Linked DNA regions of Homo sapiens: region 2 is linked to region 1. Evidence: promoter capture Hi-C in human tissues and cell types (Jung and others, 2019). All regions are on one chromosome and are shown on one strand. Each heading gives the region's core, a stretch centred on a gene start or on the middle of the fragment in contact. The rest is flanking DNA. Distances are from core to core; before and after follow the strand shown.

Region 1 (5,830 bases), core at 1,969-4,468:
ACTTGCAGCCCTTCCTCCCGCCAAATGAATGATGGGCCCTGCCCCTGGGTGACGCTAGTGAGATGCAGGCCATGGATCCCATCCCTCTCACCTTCTTAGAAACACTGCTCCAGCAACTGCCCCGTCTCTTTACTGCAGCATCGACTTCTTCCTCTCAGTGGGATCATTCCCATCAAAACAAACATGCTGTACAATCTCCCACCAAAAAAAAGAACCCTCCCTCAAACCCACATCCTCTCCAATTACCGGCTAATGTCTCAACTCCACTTTGCAACAAAACTACCTGGAAGATTTGCCTAACTGACTCCCTGTCTTCACCCCGTGTTTTATCTTCCACCTACTCCAGTCAGATTTTGTCCTTTAAGGCTTCTGTGACCATGCATTCTCCTGGGGTTTCTCCTACCTTCTCAGTCCTTCTCAGTCTCCTTGCTGGCTTCACCTCTCACCCCTCTAAACACTGCTTTGACCATCCAAAGCCTCAGAACATCTCTCTTCTGTCTGTACTCTCTTCCTAGGGGATTTCATCTAATCCCATGGCCTTGAATAACATCTATTATACCCAATGGGTCTCTTCTGTCCTCTCTCCCCACCAAGCTTCAGATCACACTATCTGACATACTCATATCTCAAATGTAAGATGGCAAAACAAGATCTCATGATTCTCCTCCACCCCAAACCGGCTCTTCCCATCTCAACGATATGAATGCTATCCACTCAGGTGCCCAAGCCCTGAGGAGTCATCTTTGCCTCTTCTCTTTCTCCCACAGACTATTCAGTCCATCATGAAGGTGTGAAGAGCCTATTTCCTAAACACAGCCTGAATGTGACCACTACTCCCTGTCTACTGTGCTACCACCCTCAGGCAAGCCACTTCTAACTCCTGCCTGGAAGAGGGCAACAGCCTCAGCTGCTCTCCTGCCTCCCCCTGCAGTGGCCACCTACAATCCAATCTCCTCACAGTGATCGTTCTAAAAACACACACCAAATCATGCCATTTCCCTGCTTAAAACCCTCCAATGACGTTTCACTGGGCTTAGAATAAAGTATGAAAATTCCTCACCCCGGCTCACAAAGCTTTGCGGCATTTACCTTTCTCCTACCTGTGACCTCTCCTCATGCCACTTTCTCCCTTGTGCACCACATTCCAGCCTTCCTGCTCCTTAAACTCCAAGCTCTTTTCTGCCTTAAGCCCTTGCCCTGGCTGTTCGCTCTTCCCGAAATGCTTTGCCAACTCATCATCACATGATGTCTCCTTCTTGTCATTCAAATTTTACTTTAAATGTTGCCTATTCAGAAACACCATCCCGATCTCCCAGTACAACCAAGCCACCCAGTCACTCCATGTCACATCACCTTATTTTAACTTTCTGCACAGTAGTAACCACGATCTGATATTATTATTTGTGTTTTTTACTTATTTTCTACTCCCTTCCCTCTCCTATTAGATTGCAAGCTCCATGAGCACCTAGAACTTTTCTGTTTTTTGTTCCCAATGCCTAGAACAACGTGTGAACGTGTGGCACACAGGAAAATTGTAATAACATCAACTGATGCAGTTATGAGCCAGAGAGGCCCACTGACAGCAAGACTCTGATGGCCCCAGCCAACTCCCCAACTTCACATACACACATATGAGGCAGGGCAATAGAACCGCAGCAAGGCCCTAGTCCTTAGGTCTGTAAATCTCACCCATCAGTATTTTCAACTATTATGCAAGAACCCAAACCAGAAAAGGAGGTTCCGGGGTTTTCTTGAAATAGGCTGCTTTATTCCTAACAGTAGTAGTTCTGACTCACAGTCGCCGAGGTACACCCAGTCAGTACTAGTCAGACCACCGTCCAGACCTTTGGCGAGCTGATTCATTCAGTGAACAAACATTTACCGAGTGCCTACTTGCTGTCCGGCACTGGGGCAAGGGGTCAAAGGCAGTGTCTGGCCTCCCGGAGCTCAGCAGGCAGAGGGAAACACGCTGCAACACAGACTCCCGCCGGAGTGGGAAAGCAAAGCCTGTACTGGCATAGGAGCCTGACCCGCGCCTTCACTTACTGCGCCCCAATCTGACATGGACTGATCCTACAGACCCAGGGTAACCTGGCTGGTGCGCCAACACTCCGGGGCTTTTGCGGAAAAGTCGCCCGTGGACTAACGGAAGCACCAGCAATCCCCCGGTTCAGCTCCGGCCGAAGAGACGCGGAGCGCTCGAGGAAAGTCATTGGTTGACCAGTTCCCTTCCCCACCCCCTCCCTCCCCGCAGGCCCGCGCAGTGGATGGAGGCCGGGGGCGAGGTTCCGACTCTCCAAGACCATCCCAGAGCCTGCGGCGGGAGAGGGGGCGTCCTCCTAAGCGAGATTCCCCTAGTCTCTCCCTCTCCCCACTCCAACCCCGCAGGCCCACACCAGGACAGAACTTCTCGTTCTACTCCTCCCACCCGAGCCCATCCAGGTCCCGGCACTCGCCTCTCCCGGCGGGGCGCAGCCCCAGACCCTAGAGGGGAGGCGTGCCCAGCCCGCACACCAGCACCCGAATCCAGCCGGATTGCAAGGTCCAGGGCGCAGAGTCTGCGGCCTCTTCCCCCCCGGCCCAGGTCCCCAGCGTAGGTGCGGCCCCCACCGCCTTCCTCTCGGAGGCCGCCAAACAACTTGGGCACACAAAACGTTGAGTGTGGCCGCGGCGCAGCGCGCGCCAACGAGCCCGGGCCGGCGGGAGCAGAGGAAGGGCGGGGCGCCCGGCGGGAACGGGGAGGGACCCCCCCCCCGCGGCACAGGTGCGAGCGCGGCGGCCCCACTCACTCACTCGATGAAGTAGCTGGCGCCCTCCTCCGTGAAGCCCTCCTCCCAGCCGCGGGGCAGGTCTGCGGAAACGCCAGAAAAGTCGGGTCAAACTTGGGCCGCCGCTGCGCGCGCCCCCCACCCGCCGGCCCGGCGCCCACCTGAGCGGATCATGTGGCCCGAGTTGACGGGCTCCCCGGTGCGCGGATGCAGCCAGGTCGTGCAGCGGAGCTGGTCACTGCGGGCAGAGAGGTGCACCTGTTAGCGCCGCCACAGCCCGCCGGGTGCCCGCCCGGCCCCCGCCCCCGCGCCCCCACCCGCGTCCCCGCGTCCCCGGGTCCTCGCGCCGCACTTGATGAAGAAGACGCGGCCATCCCGGCACACCCCGTAGGACCAATGCTCAGGTAAAGTGTCCCGCCCGACCGTCGCCGCCGCCATGTTCGCCGAGCGCGGAGCCGCCGCGGGGTGGGGGGGAGGGGGCGGGGGCGCGGGCAGGGGCGGAGGCGGGGGCGGTGGCGGGGGCTCGGCCTGCGCGTGGCCCGGCGGCGCCGCGAGGCGCTCCATCCAGGCGCGGGCTCCTGAGGGAGCGACCGCCCGGCCGGGTCCTGGCGCCCGGAGTTCGCAGCCGCTCCGGCCAACCCAGCGCAGTGCCCGCGGCCTTTGTCCCCGAGCCTTCCCCGCCCCCAGCCTGCTGGCACCGGCGCTCCCCTTTGCCCCCGAGGCCGGGAGACCCGGGCGGCGCGGGGGGCCGCTGGCGGGGGCCGCTGGCGGGCGCGCCTGGGCAGCTTCGGGGCGCGCGGTTGGACCCGACCAACTCCGAAAACGGCGAGCGCCCGAACGCTCAGTAAACCCCAGCCGACCCGCACCACAGAACTTCCCGACCCGGGAACTCCGCTTGTGTGTGAACCAAGTTAACACTCAGGTTCCTGCCATATTCCCAGCCTCCTTCTCTTCCCCTGTAAGGTTAATCGAGTCCACACGGGATTGTTGTGTAGATTAAATGAAGTAACAATCGCATAAAGTGCTTAACCGGACCATGGCATGTAGTAGGTGCTCTATCAACGGCAGGCCGAGCGCGATTTCATTTTCCCAAGTTTTCAGCTGGGATGTGAAACAGGAGGGAGCAGGGTTACCGCCACACACCACTGAGGTTGCAGGGATCGCAAGCTCTTGCCTTCAGTTTCTGTCAAGTAACAGAAAAAAGGGGTTTTGAGGGCTCGGCAGCACGTCCATCTCTGGAAGAGCGGTGGCCAGGCGGGGCCTCTAGGGGGCCCTGCAAAGCTCTTTGCAGTGGCGGCACCCTCTCATATTCGGGTCTTTACTCCTATCTTATCTCCTCGGGGAGCCCTCCCTGAGCCCTCTGCAAAGAAAATCCTTCCCCTCCTTCCCTCGCTATTTCATTACTTGTTTACATTTAATTGATATTTGTGTTTGTCTTGTTTGTTGTATATTAGTTCCAACATGTCAGCTGGATGAGAGAAGGGGCTTTGATCTACCTCATACACTGCCTGGTCTCCAATGCCTGGAACAGCACCTGACTCATGTATGCATTACGCATTCAATAACTGTAGGATGGGGTGGGGCACGGTGGCTCAGGCCTGTAATCCCAGCACTCTTGGAGGCCGAGGCGGGTGAATCACTTGAGGTCAGGAGTTCTATTCCAGCCTGGCCAACATGGTGAAACCCCGTCTCTACCAAAAAAATACAAAAGCTAGCCGGGCGTGGTGGCGGGCGCCTGTAATCCCAGCTACTCAGGAGGCTGAGGCGGGAAAATCGCTTGAACCAGGGAGGCAGAGGTTGCAGTGAGCCGAGATCGCGCCGCTGCCCTGCAACCTGTGCAACAGCGAGACTCAGTCTAAAAAAAAAAACTGCAGGATGAGTGAATGAAACATACTCCACACTCAGACTCCCGGCCACACACACACACACACACACACACACACACTGAGCAAAGACAGAGCAGCAGCTGGGCTCCAGCTGTTGTCAGGCCCAGCCTTCTCGGGACATAGGCTCTGATTGATGGGAGGAGGCGCGCCTGAAAGTGAGACTGTATGCAATGTGAGCACTAGTTATTCAGAAAGGTGCCCAAACAGGTGGAATTAGGCTGGACCCTGAAGGACTGGTTAGGTTTGACTGGGAAAAGAGCACTCCAGAGGGGAGGGATGGGAGAGCATGCACATAATTTTGGGAGGGCTGTGAGATGTTGATGAGACCATAAAGGGGCCCTTCCTTGGGAACAGACAGTGGTGTTGGGGAAGGAGGCATTTATGAGTTAGAAGAGGTAACTGGTTGCAGAGGACGGGGGACACCTGTCTGAAGGAACCTCCTGCCTCTGAGGAGGTTGTTGAGCAAATGAAAATAGGAAAGCGGTGTTTTGCTAGCTAAACATTGATTTTAAATAATACATTAAATGGGCAAAGGGTATGAACCCACAGTTAATAGAAAAGTAATACAGATAACTTTTAAGCAAATGAAAAGATACTGAGCCACTTCATAATAGAAGAACTGCAACTTACGGTGAAATACTATTTTTTTAGATGTCAGATTGGAAAAGATAAATTAGAAAAGATATTGGCCAGGCGTGGTGGCTCACGCCTGTAATCCCAGCACTTTGGGAGGCTGAGGCGGGTGGATCGCTTGAGATCAGCAATTCGAGACCAGCCTGGCCAACATGGTGAAACCTTGTCTCTACTAAAAACACAAAAATTAACTGGGCATGGTGGTGCATGCCTGTAATCCCAGCTACTTGGGAGGCTGAGGCAGGAGAATCACTTGAACCCTAGAGGTGGAGGTTTCAGTGAGCAGAGATCACGCCACTGCACTCCAGCCTGGGTGACAGAGTGAAACTCTGTCTCATAAAAGAAAGAAAGAAAAGATATTGTAGAGAAAGACATTCTTGTTCATTGTTGATGGGACTTTAAAATGTTTGAGCCTCTTCGAAGGCAATTTGGCACAGCTATTCCAACCTCAATGTCTTGACCTAGCAATTTCATGTCAGGAATTTATCCTACATTAGTGCTTACATGGGGCACAAATTCCAGTGTACTAGAGTATTCACTGCA
Region 2 (6,753 bases), core at 1,824-4,323, 180 kb after region 1:
CTCAAAGATGCCCCAAATGTTGGAATTATTATTAAATAGTAAGTTTAGGCTGGGCGTGGTGGCTCAGGCCTGTAATCCCAGCACTTTGGGAGGCCAAGGTGGGTGGATCACTTGAGGTCAGCAGTTCAAGATCAGCCTGCAACATGGCGAAACCCCATCTCTACTAAAAATACAAAAATTAGCTGGGCATAGTGACGCGTGCCTGTAATCCCAGTTACTCTGGAGGCTGAGGCAGGAGAATTGCTTGAACCTGGGAGGCAGAGGTTGCAGTGAGCCGAGATCATGCCACTGTACTCCAGCCTGGGCAACAGAGTGAGACTCCATCTCAAAAAAAATAGTAACTTTAAAATAATTATGATAGGCTGGGTGCGGTGGCTCACACCTGTAATCCCAGAACTCTGGGAGGCCAATGGATCACCTGAGGTAAGGAGTTTGAGACCAGCCTGGCCAACATGGTGCAACACCATCTCTATTAAAATACAAAAATTAGCCAGGCGTGGTGGTGCGCACCTGTAATCCTAGCTACTCAGGAGGCTGAGACAGGAGAATCACTTGAACCCAGGAGGCAGAGGTTGCAGTGAGCCGAGATTGCGCCACTGCACTCCATCCAGCCTGGGCGACAGAGCAAGACTCTGTCTCAAAAAAAAAAAAAAAATTATGATAAAAATATTAAATGATCTAGTAGAAAAGATAGACAATATGTATGAAGTGATGGGACATTTCAGCATAGTAACAGGAACTACAGAAAAGAAATACTGGAAAGGAAAAATATATTCAAAATCAATAATTAATTAGATGGACTAAGCAGAAGGATTGATAAACCCGAGGACAGATCAATAGAAAATATCCAAAATGAAACAGAGAAAAAGAGGGGGAAGGGTATACAACAGCATGTCTAAGTTCTGTGGGACAATTTCAAATGGTCTAATATAATGTGTAATTGGAGTCCAAGAAGGAGAGTAGAGAGAATGAAACAGAAGAAATATTTTAAAAGGAAATGGCCAGAACTTTCCACAAAGAAAGACATCAACCAAACAAAACCAAGAAGTTCAGTGAAGCCCAAGCAGGATAAAAATATACTAGAGGATTCACCCAATGAGGTTATAATGTAGTTTAAATGACTACTTGAAAGAAATTATGTCGGTTCTTATTAATACATGGAGTTAGGATCAAATCCATCTATTGTCTACAGAGTCTGTTCCTAAAGAAACCATGGAGGTAAGTTTTAATTTTACATCCTACCTATTAAAGAATTTAGCCTTGCCCAAAGACAGGTGCCCTCTGCTCCTGAGAGGTAATCTATGTCATACTTGACAGGAGTGTCCTTCTGGCCAGGGTTGGCCAACCAGAAAGGCCAACCATGTGATTTAGGATGGGGACTTTGGGTCACCCAGTATCAGTCTGAATCCAATCTAGAGACTGAGCTCAACTATGTGGGCAATCCATCAATCAAACATGCCTATTTAATGAAGTCCTAATTTGAAAATCTGGATGCTGAAGCACAAGTGAGCTTCCCCGGATGGCAACAGTCCATGCATACTGTCACATACTGATACTGAGAGTAACACCTCCTGACTTAATGGGGAGCGAATACCAGATGCTCCAACATTTGAGACCCTCTTGAACTTGGTTCTATGGGCTCCTTGCCTTGATTTTAATCTGTATCCTTTCCTTGAAATAAACTGTAACCATGAACATAATAGCTCTTAGCAGTGAGTTCTCCTGGCATCTTTTTAGCAAGTTATCGAAACTTTGGGAACCTCCCCAGCCCCCAGACTTGCAGTTGGTGTCAGAAGTGAAAGTGGTCTTATGGAAGACTGTGTCCTCAAACTTTACAGTTTAGCTAACTCGGAGAGGATCTTCATAAAAGTTTTAGGTTCATTTAATGATGAAAGCTAGTTAAAAGTTCAGGCTTGGCCAGGTGTGGTGGCTCATGCCTGTACTACGAACACTTTGGGACGTCAAGGTGGGCAGACTGCTTGAGTCCAGGAGTTTGAGACTAGCCTAAGAAACATAAGGAAACCCTGCTTCTACTAAAAAAAAAAAAAAAAAATAGAAAAATTAGCCAGCGTGGTGGTGCATGATTGTAGTCCCAGCTAGTCAGGAGGCTGAGGTGGCAGGAAAGCTTGAGCCCAGGAAGCAGAGGTTGCAGCAAGCGGAGATCGCACCACTGCACTCCAGCCAGGGTAACAGAGCGAGACCCCTGTCTCAATAAATAAATAAATTAATAATGCAGGTGTAATAGAAACATATGGATCCTCTTATTATTTGTTTAAACATGTGTTTGAAGATGCTCTTTGGGGAATATTGCTGATACAGTAAAGTTATATTCTCCAAGCTAAATCCAACATTGTGGGTCAATCTAAATCAGAACAGGAGACTTAATTTAACAAGCTGAATAAGCTACATTACTATACTGTACATCTCCATCTCATATTTTATACAACTCTTTTAACATATGAAAAAAATAATTGCTTCTGGTCCAACAACTACAAATAATCCCCACAAAAGAACTGTATTTTTTGTATTTTTGAGACAATCTTGCTCTGTCACCCAGGCTGGAGTACAGTGGCGCAATCTCAGCTCACTACAACCTCCATCTCCAGGTTCAAGTGATTCTCATGCCTCAGCCTCCTGAGTAACTGGGATTACAGGTGTGTGCTACCACAACCAGCTAAATGTTTTATTTTTGGTAGAGATGGGGTTTCACCATGTTAGCCAGGATAGTCTCAAACTCCTGATCTCAAGTGATCTGCCCTCCTCAGCCTCCCAGAGTGCTGGGATTACAGACGTAAGCCACCGTGCCTGGCCACAAAACAACTGTTATGGAAACCTCATCACTAGTCAACCTTTTATAGCAAATACAGTATTTGACTTTAAACATTCAGCCAATTATTATGTGGTAACTATGAAAACAACTATGGTTTTAATGTCCCCTCCAAAACTCATGTTGAAATTTAATTGCCATTGTGATAGTATTAAGAGGTGGGACCTTTAAGAGATGATTAGGCCAGGAGGGCATAGTCCTCATGACTACGACTGTGGGAGTACACTCACACAATGTCATAATTGTGGGATTAATACCATAACTGTAGGAATGGGCTCCTGATTAAAAGATGAGTTCAGCCAGATTTCCTCTCTGTCATATGTGGTCGCCTGCACTCTGTTAGGACACAGCAAGAACGCCCTCACCAGATGCCAAGCGGATGTTAGTACTACCATGCCCTTGGACTTCCCAGCCTCCAGAACTGTAAGCCAAATAAATTTATTTTCTTTATAAAGTATCAATCTGTGGTATTGTTACAGCAGCAGAAAATGAACTAAGACATTCTTCCAATAAAAACTATCCTGAAATAAGAGATTTTTCCGCCGCAGTTAGAAACTGAAATTCCCTGAAGAATATTTCCTTAGAAATCGGCTTTGTTATCCCACTAAGTTTTATATTTAAAAAATATTCTTAAATCTAAAGGTATTAACAGAAATTCAACTTAAAAATTGCTGAATATAGCTTCCGGTTCTAGGTGCTTCAGGAGCCATGGCTTAGGGTGCAGACATGGCCAAGTCCAAGAACCACACCACACACAACATTCCCGAAAATGGCACAGAAATGGTATTAAGAAACTGCGATCAAGCCAGGTGTGGTGGCTTACGCCCGTAATCCCAGCACTTTGGGAGGCCAAGGCGGGTGGATCACGAGGTCAAGAGATCGAGACCAACCTGGCCAACATGGTGAAACCCCATCTCTACTAAAAATATAAAAATTAGCGGGGCATGATGGCGCGCGTCTGTAGTCCCAGCTACTCGGGAGGCTGCGGCAGGAGAATTGCTTGAAATCAGAAGGCGGAGGCTGCAGTGAGCCGAGATCGCACCACTGCGCTCCAGCCTGGCAACAGAGCGAGACTCTGTCTCAAAAAAAGAAAAGAAAAGAAAAGAAAAGAAAAGAAAAGAAAAGAAAAGAAAAGAAAAGAAAAGAAAAGAAAAGAAACCCCGATCACAAAGATATGACTCTCTCAAGGGGGTGGACCCCAAATTCCTGAGGAACATGTGCATTGCCAAGAAGCAAAACAAGAAGGGCCTAAAGAAGATGCAGGCTTTGGCAGGCCATCAGTCCACGTGGTGAGGCTATGAAGGCCCTTGTAAAGGAGGTTAAGCCCAAGATCCCAAAGGGTGTCAGCAGCAAGCTCCATCGACTTGCCTACATTGCCCACCCCAAGCTTGGGAAGCGTGCTTGTGCCCGCATTGCCAAGGGGCTTGGGTTGTGCCGGCCAAACGACAAGGACAAGGATCAAACCAAGGCCCAGGCTGCAACTCCAGCTTCAGTTCCAGCTCAGGTTCGCAAAGGTGCTCAGGCTCCTACAAAGGCTTCAGAGTAGGTATCTGCCTGCCAACGTGAGGACACAAGGACTGGTGCAACCTGCCCAGGCTGCCGTCTGCATGGGGCTGGGGTCCTCACCTCCTGTGCTATTTGTACAAATAAACCTGAGGCAGGAAAGAAAAAAGAAATTGCTAAATACAGGCATCACAAACTAACAAATGAGGACTTTGAATTAGAAGAAAAGAAAAACTGAGTTTCTGCCCCATCCCTATTATTATTAATTAGCTATTTCAACTTGAATAAAGCACTTCACCTCTCTGAGCTTCAATTTCTCAAGTACATAAAGTTGTTAGACATTGGATGATAAGATTCATTCTAGCCTGGCGCAGTGGCTCATGCCTGTAATCCCAGCACTTTGAGAGGCCAAAGCAGGTGGATCACCTGAGGTCAGAAGTTCAAGACCAGCCTCACCAACATGGTGAAACTCCACCTCTACTAAAAATACAAAATTAGCTGGGCATGGTGGCACATGCCTGTTATCCCAGCTACTCGGGAGTCTGAGGCAGGAGGATTGCTTGAACCCAGGAGGCAGAGGATGCAGTGAGCCGAGACTGCGACATTGCACTCCAGCCTGGGCAACAAGAACGAAACTCCATCTCGAAGAAAAAAAAAAAAAGATTAATTCTAACTCTTAGATTTCTATAATATTAAATTTAACTTGTAAAGTTTAATTCTTTTCTCCAAATTTTGTTACGTTAAGTATGCAGTCACATTTCCAAGTTGAGGGTATGACACAATGAAACTTCCTCATTCGAATCTAACTTAATTTTACCCTGTGGATTTCTTGTGATGTATTTTTTTATAAAAATTAGAAATATAGGGGGCCGGGTGTGGTGGCTCATACTCATAATCCCAGCACTTTGGGAGGCCGAGGCAGGTGGATCACGAGGTTAAGAGATCAAAACCATCCCGGCCAACTTGGTGAAACCCTGTCTCTACTAAAAATACAAAAATTAGCTGGGCATGGTGGCAGGCGCCTGTAATCCCAGCTACTCAGGAGGCTGAGGCAGGAGAATCGCTGGAATCCGGGAGGCAGAGGTTGCAGTGAGCCGAGATGGCGCCACTGCATTCCAACCTGGTGAAAGAGGAAGATTCTGTCTCAAAGAAAAAAAAAAAATTAGAAACATGGCCAGGTGCAGTGGCTCATGCCAGCAAACCCAGCACTTTGGGAGGCCAGGGCAGGCAGATCACTTGAGGTCAAGAGTTCAAAACCAGTCTGGCCAACATGGTGAAACTCCATCTCTACCAAAAAATACAAAAATTGACCAGGCATGGTGGAGTGCACCACATAGCAGTCGTTGTTGCTGTCGTCGTCCCAGCTACTTAGGAGACTGAGGCAGGAGGATTGCTTGAACCCAGGAGGCGGAGGTTGCAGTGAGCCAATATCATGCCACTGCACTCCAGCCTGGGAGACAGAGCAAGACTCTATTGCAAAAAAAAAAAAAGGAGCCCCGCGCGCTGGCTCACGCCTGTAATCCCAGCACTTTGGGAGGCCAAGGCAGGTGGATCACGAGGTCAGGGGTTTGAGACCATCCTGGCTAACATGGTGAAACCCCATCTTGAATAAAAATACAAAAAATTAGCCAGGCATGGTGGCAGGCGCCTGCAGTCCCAGCTACTTGGGAGGCTGAGGCAGGAGAATGGCATGAACCAGGGAGGCAGAGCTTGCAGTGAGCCGAGATAGTGCCACTGCACTCCAGCCTGGGCAACAGAGCGAGACTTCATCTCGAAAGAAAAAAAGAAAAGAAAAGAAAAAAGAAAAGAAACATACTATCACATTGTGGATTAAGAAAAGAAACAAAAAAAAATCAGAAACAAGTTAAATCACTAAGCTCAACTATCAAAAATCAGAAATCTCTCCAAAAAAATCTTAAAATCTCCATCTATCAATAAAAACTTTTTTAATTATTAAATTTGATATACCTCCAAGATGGGGGATACTATACTGAATTTTAGGTATAATAGGAAGCCCAGGGTGAATTTCAGGCAGACACAGTCATGTGATCTGATTTACATTGCTCAAGATCCCTATTGTTCTGTGGAAAATAGGCATAACAAACAAAAATGGAAACTGGGAGACCAATTAACAGGTAGCTGAAAAAGTCTAGAATAATGACTTGGACTAGGATAACAGCAATGGAAATGTTAAGAAGTGGTTTGATTCAAACAAGTAAACAAAATGGTACATACAGACAGTAAATGAAATAGGAGAAAAGAACAGTAATGTGAGAGAGAATGATTTAGTTGGGGAGGATACTATTATTATTATTTTTTTTTGAGACGGAGTCTTGCTCTGTCACCCAGCCTGGAGTGCAGTGGCTCGATCTCCGCTCACTGCAAGCTCCGCCTCCCGGGTTCACGCCATTCTCCTGCCTCAG

The links. Contacts are between HindIII fragments. The study calls those that stand out against the background at their distance.
Region 2: a contact is called between a fragment that was not itself captured here and the fragment with the promoter of PLEKHA7 in region 1, in 1 of the 25 tissues and cell types used here (thymus).

The regions. Positions count from the first base shown.
Region 1 is chr11:17,011,196-17,017,025 of GRCh38, forward strand. PLEKHA7 (pleckstrin homology domain containing A7) reads right to left here and starts at 3,219. Exons shown (of 27, transcript NM_001329630.2): 1 at 3,121-3,219; 2 at 2,930-3,006; 3 at 2,794-2,851. The coding sequence starts at 3,206. RefSeq lists an enhancer at 981-1,742 and a silencer at 1,627-1,921. The HindIII fragment of the contact is 16,980 bases long and covers 835-5,830 here.
Region 2 is chr11:17,189,936-17,196,688 of GRCh38, forward strand. The region is part of intron 1 of PIK3C2A (phosphatidylinositol-4-phosphate 3-kinase catalytic subunit type 2 alpha); the gene reads right to left. It also overlaps the pseudogene RPL29P21. Among named protein-coding and RNA genes, the nearest start is that of PIK3C2A, 15 kb to the right of the region's middle. RefSeq lists an enhancer at 5,341-5,842. The HindIII fragment of the contact is 5,117 bases long and covers 516-5,632 here.